Regions from separate parts of the Homo sapiens genome. Here region 2 is linked to region 1. Evidence: promoter capture Hi-C in 16 types of primary human blood cells and fetal thymus (Javierre and others, 2016). All regions are on one chromosome and are shown on one strand. Each heading gives the region's core, a stretch centred on a gene start or on the middle of the fragment in contact. The rest is flanking DNA. Distances are from core to core; before and after follow the strand shown.

What was found. Contacts are between HindIII fragments. The CHiCAGO score rates a contact against its expected background, and 5 or more counts as called.
Region 2: a fragment that was not itself captured here is called in contact with the fragment with the promoter of MBL2 in region 1 in 1 of 17 cell types (megakaryocytes); the score reaches 5.0 in megakaryocytes.

What each region holds. Positions count from the first base shown.
Region 1 is chr10:52,771,534-52,774,721 of GRCh38, reverse strand. It overlaps MBL2 (mannose binding lectin 2), which reads left to right and starts at 1,938. Exons shown (of 5, transcript NM_001378373.1): 1 at 1,938-1,985; 2 at 3,078-3,188. The coding sequence starts at 3,087. The HindIII fragment of the contact is 7,250 bases long and covers 1-3,188 here.
Region 2 is chr10:52,328,547-52,331,867 of GRCh38, reverse strand. No RefSeq gene overlaps it. Among named protein-coding and RNA genes, the nearest start is that of DKK1, 16 kb to the right of the region's middle. The HindIII fragment of the contact is 2,311 bases long and covers 248-2,558 here.

The DNA.
Region 1 (3,188 bases), core at 689-3,188:
GCAAGCACTGTGATTAAAGCCAGCACCGCCAGTGACCTGGAGTCAACTACCTCACCTCACCTTCTGCCACTGGAGCAGGAGCAGGGGGAAGCTCTGGCTGCTAAAGAATAAGAAGGGAAACAAGTCTTCTCAGGCCCTGTCTTCTTTAGGCCCTGGATCTCCTGATATCCACTGATGGCTTTAGGCATGTGGCTCTGTACCATCCTGGACATTTTTCCAGGCACAGCAGACAGGTCAGCAGGAAGTAAGGAAGCCAGTCCCTCCACAAGCCAAGAAGACTTCAATTGGAAGGGACCTGGAAATGCATCTTACTCACATTTCTTTTGGTGTTTGGAGGCCTCCATAGTACCCCCACCACATGGCCCCGCAGCCTCTGAACTTCTCAGGATGGGCTCCCCAACACCCCAAGCTACATGGCATTTTTCTGAAAGCCATATCAGTAATGTAGTTGAGAATCAAATGAACTATGTTCGTAAAAGTATTCTTCCATCCCTTCTAGATTGTCCCCATTAACCACAGCAAGATGGTTCAAGCCATTAACACACACGATACCCATGATCTTATAGTGCCAAGTGCTGTTCTTTTGCTTCTTATCTCAGTTGAGTGGCTCCTAGATAGTCAAGTCATAAATGTGTGTGCCCATGAAAACTTCTTATTATCACTCACTATTCTAGCTAATTCTCAAGTGCAATCAATACCTCCTGTTTCTCAAGTGTGCCTACCTTCTTAATCTAGCTGCCATTACCCTGACCCAGGCCACTGTCTTCTGCTGCTTAGATCATGGCAAGCACTTCCTTTTAGATCTGCTTTTCTCCAGTCCTGTTCCCCTCAACATCATAGCCAGAACAAGCCTTGCAAAATTCAAATGTGATCACCTCTCCACTACTGCAGTCCCTCTAGTGCCCCCTGGAAGGAAACCCAAAGTCTTTAACACAGTTTACAATTCTTGTTATGAGGATGAAATTTGAAGACATTGTGCTAAGTGAAATAAGCCAGATACAAGGGGGCTATTGTATGATTTCACATATATGAGGTACCTAGGATAGATGAATTCAGAGAGACAGAAAGTAAAACAGAAGTTACCAGTGGCTGTGGGTAGGGGTAAATGGAGAATTCTAGTTTAATGAGTTGAGAGTTTCAGTTTGGGATGATGAAAATCATCCCATGATGTGGTGATGATAGCACAACCGTGTGAATGTACTTAATGCTACTGAGTTGTGTGCTTAATAATAATGGTCAAAATGGTAAATTTTATGTCTATTTTACCACAATGAAAAACTGGAAAAGTAAAGTCAATGACTATAATATCATAAAGTGTAAGTAACATGAGAGAAAATAATTCAGGCTAAGAGGATAGAGACTGCTAGGTAGGACTATTTTAGAATAAGTGATCAAGGTACTGATTTCTCTGAAATTGGAATATTTGAATAGAAGAGAAAGAGCTAGCTGGCGATGCCCGTAAGGGGTCCAGGCATGGAGACATCAAATGAAGAGTCTGAGGCAGGAATGGCCTTAATGCATTAATGGCAGCAAGAGGTCTATGTGGTTTCATGGATGGGTGTGTGCGTGCATGCACGTGTCTGTGTGTATAGTTGGTGTGCATGAGCATGTGTATGCATTTGTGAGTATCTTTGTTTTTCTGTTGGAAACAAGGATGTCAACAGGACTAACTAGGTGAACCTAGCTGTGGTAGTTCAGCAATGAGATTTGCCAAAATGGATGGCAATTGAAAGAGGAATTGTGCTGTATTAAAGCAGACAGCTGCCGAGCACTGTATTGGAGGCTCCTAAATTTCTCATAGTTCTGAGAAGAGCTGTTTATTAATCTGGAGTTGAAGGCCAGGCCCAGGATATCCTTGTTCACAAGGTTGATTGGGCCCTACATTGCTGAGCCCAGCCTCCTCCCTCACTCTGAGGCATCTGCCAGAGCCCCAGGCTAGAGGGCCAGCGTCCTTGTCACTGAGTCCCTGCTCTGCAGAAACACCAGTAAGTCATTTCTGGTGAATAAATCTGGGTTTCCGGATCAAGGGTTTGGGGAGCTGACATGACCCTGGAGGCATGGAGGAGGCTTTCTAGGGGTGGGGGGAGTGGGATGGAAAGCAGAAATCAGGTTGAGGATGTCTCTTTTTCTGCTTGTGCTGGAGCATCTGTGACTTTCCTCCATTATCTGTTCATCTGCAGTGGAGACTGTCTTTGTTTTCAAAGGGAAACTTGGAGGCTTAGACCTATGGGGCTAGGCTGCTGAGGTTTCTTAGGGGGCAATAGCTGGAAGAAAGCTCTGAAGAACAAATGAAAGGTTAATACTGAGAAATGGGAGGAGGATTCAAGGCAAGTTTTCTAATTGCCAGTGGTTTTTGACTCACAGAACATGGGGAATTCCTGCCAGAAAGTAGAGAGGTATTTAGCACTCTGCCAGGGCCAACGTAGTAAGAAATTTCCAGAGAAAATGCTTACCCAGGCAAGCCTGTCTAAAACACCAAGGGGAAGCAAACTCCAGTTAATTCTGGGCTGGGTTGGTGACTAAGGTTGAGGTTGATCTGAGGTTGAGACCTTCCTCTTTGGATCACCAGCTTTCAGCTCAGGGCCTGCCAATGAGTAAATGATAGTTAACAGGTCCTGGAGGGGAATCAGCTGCCCAGATACAAAGATGGGATTCAGGTGGCAGATGGACCCGAAGAGGACATGGAGAGAAAGAGGAAGCTCCTACAGACACCTGGGTTTCCACTCATTCTCATTCCCTAAGCTAACAGGCATAAGCCAGCTGGCAATGCACGGTCCCATTTGTTCTCACTGCCACCGAAAGCATGTTTATAGTCTTCCAGCAGCAACGCCAGGTGTCTAGGCACAGATGAACCCCTCCTTAGGATCCCCACTGCTCATCATAGTGCCTACCTTTGTTAAAGTACTAGTCACGCAGTGTCACAAGGAATGTTTACTTTTCCAAATCCCCAGCTAGAGGCCAGGGATGGGTCATCTATTTCTATATAGCCTGCACCCAGATTGTAGGACAGAGGGCATGCTCGGTAAATATGTGTTCATTAACTGAGATTAACCTTCCCTGAGTTTTCTCACACCAAGGTGAGGACCATGTCCCTGTTTCCATCACTCCCTCTCCTTCTCCTGAGTATGGTGGCAGCGTCTTACTCAGAAACTGTGACCTGTGAGGATGCCCAAAAGACCTGCCCTGCA
Region 2 (3,321 bases), core at 154-2,653, 440 kb after region 1:
CTGCATACTCTCTATGCCTTCCACAATAGGCCCGTGTCAACTGGCAGTTGCACACAAGGCTTTCATGGTGATGGGATATGTGTCATTCAGAGTGAAAGAAAGAGAGAGGGAGAAAGACAGAGAGAGCGTGCAGAAGGAAGAAAGAAAAAGAAGGAAGGAAGAGAGGAAAGAAGAAATGCTTTATGGCCACATGTTTAAATATGTGCTGTTAGAACACTGATTTCAGCCATTTTTAAGACCACAAGCTTTTCAAAATTTCAACAGCTTTTAAATGTCTCTTTAGGCACAGAAACAATTATTATTATACATTAAGTTCTAGGGTACAAGTGCACAAAAGAAACCATTGATTTTTAAATTGCATTCCATGCTTTGGGAATTTTGTGAAGTCAGCACACAGTAATATTAATAATGGTGTTAATGTAAATATTCCCTCTTGGATCGTAAATGTCTTCATTACGAGATGACATAACTGGTACTTCACTAAAACTTGCTATTATTATCTCTTCAGCTAATAAATCATATTATGTTAAACTCATTTTAAATCCCACCTTTTAGGTAATATAGGATTATAATCATCCTATTCAACTCGGCTATGTTTTGAGAGGTGGAGGTATAAGAGATATTTTAAAGTCTATATTTAATTCTTATTCGCTTCCCTACTCACTGATAAATTTGCTATCAAAACTTCCCTAGTCTTAGGCTTTGACATATAGGTTACCAAAGACCTCCAAGTTTAAGAGACACCTTGGAATTCCCTTTTCTAACTTGCAATCTTTGCAGGCAAATTCAGGAAATTCAATGTCTAAATTCCACTTTCAGAGTCAACAGGGCATTCCACAAATCTATTCCAAGATTAAGGCAGAAACATCCGTATTTCTGCTATCTTGTCTGAGGAAGACAGAAACTAATAAAGGTAGTCCCCAAACTTGTGTACATTAAGATAAACCATCAATCTTTTAAAAAATTTGAAGCCTAGGCCATACTCCAAACCAATCAATCACATTTTCTGGGAGTGGGTCACAGGCACGAGTTAGTTTTTCAAAGTCCCCAGATGATCCTAATGTGAAGATAAAATTAGAACACCACTGATTAATGGCATCCATAGAATTTGTTTTAATTTAGCTAGGGCTATTGCATGAATTACAAGGTGTTGAAAATATCATTCCATCTCCATTTAAAAAAGGTAGATTTCCTTATGGTGAAAGGATCTGTTATATGGTCAACCTACAGGAACAAGTTAGGCTAGTCAGGACTACAGGGTTATTTTGTCTCAGTAAATGTGAATTACAATTGCAAGTAAAATTTCTTTTTATGAAAGCCAAAATAAGACAAGCCATTCATCTTCTCAAAACCATCTAATCATTATACAATGCAAATAGCAAAATACATGGGAGTATTTTACATCACAAGAAATTATTTTTAATATATTTCTTTGTGATTAATTCCTGCTTTTAAGATTATATTTGTGCATTAAAAATTATCCAAGTTCAGCAATAATGACAAGAAATAATAAATAAAATCAGGACGCAGTTTTGTCTGCATTTTACTTAATTATGAGTAATATTTAATAATAAACTCAGGAAGTAATTTTTGTCTGTTTTAATTATGAGTAACTATTTTATATATACAAAGAGTAGGTAGTTAATAAAAACACAAAATGGACAGGTGCAGTGGCTCACACCTATAATCCCAGCACTTTGGGAGGCAGAGGTGGGCGGATCACGAGGTCAGGAGATCAAGACCATCCTGGCTAACACAGTAAAACCCCATCTCTACTAAAATACAAAAAAAAAAAAAAAAAAAAGCCGGGCATGGTGGCACAGGCCTGTAGTCCCAGCTATTCAGGAGGCTGAGGCAGGAGAATCACTTGAACCCGGGAGGCGGAGGTTGCAGTGAGCCACGATTGCACCATGCCACTGCACTCCAGCCTGGGCAACAGAGTGAGACTCCATAAATAAATAAATAAATAAAACTACAAAATTTCTAGTACAAAATTTCAAAATTTTTGGTATATTTATGTGTATTATGAATAATATAGTGGCAAATCCATTCAGGGGAAATAGCATAGGTGTTTACTGATTCATTCAACATGTCTTTATTGAGCAACTACTATAGGGTAAGCCCAGAATTGGGTGCTATGGATTGAAGAATAACCAAGCTCTTTGCACTCATGAAGATTACAGTTTGATGGGGTTGAAATCCACTTAATAAATAAATATAAAAATAGTTTGTTAGAATTAGAATAAGAGCTATGAAAAATAATTTATGAGCCCACATAAATTACCTGACTTGGCCTGTGATACAATGTTGGGTCAGGGAAGACTTCCCTTTAAAATATAAGGTAAGACTTCATCAGTTGAAATGAGTACTAGAGGAAAATCAGAATGACTACAGTTAAGAACCTTAGTTTATTTCAGTTTGAGTTCCTCTTATCCCAAGTTTGAAAAATCTATAAAATGTGTTTTGTCAAAGAGGTATCTGCAAACATAGAAAGTAAACACTAACACGCGATATAAAAGTAAGTTACCATTTTCGTTGCCATTGATATAAAGTAAGCTTTGGCACAATAAGCATCCAGATCTGTCATCATTCTATTACTTCTTAGCCATGTGACATTAAGGACATCAGTTTATCTCTCAGCACCTCTTTGTCTTGTTGCCTTGTAGATATAGTGAACATTTATTATATCTGCCATGACTGTTACAACGATCACATGAAATGATATATTTACCCAAGCCCAAGTACTAGCTCAGGATAAGTGCTCAGCCAATCATTTCTTTCTCTGCACATAGTCCCTATATGGCCATACTGTTTAGAGTAAAGCATTTTGATTAAAGGCCATGTCACAGTGGATTTCAAAATTAGATGTATAATAGCAATCAATGGAAGAGCTTTAAAAAAATACAGATGCAAAGGCTCAATTCTAAGAGGTTCTGATTCAGTAGACTTGGAAGGCTCCCAGAATCTATAATTTTAAAGAGTTTCCCAGGTGTTTCAGAAGATGATGAGCTGAGTTTGGGAACCACTTGTCTGAGGAAGCTATAACATGATCACCCATTTTGAAATATAATCAGGAACATATCTGGGAATATCTTGACTTCTCCTGATCTTCAACTGGCATATAAAATCCACAAAGACACATCACCACTGAAATGTAATTACAGCATCCTGAATTAACAAGCAAATTGAAATAGTGTTCACAGTACTGTGCACCAACAGCTCATCCACATTGGAGTCAATAACGGTTGTAGCAGAATGACCGCTTGTTAAATAACCTTCACTTTGTTTAGGATAATTGCTGAATTATCCTAAAACCTAAAA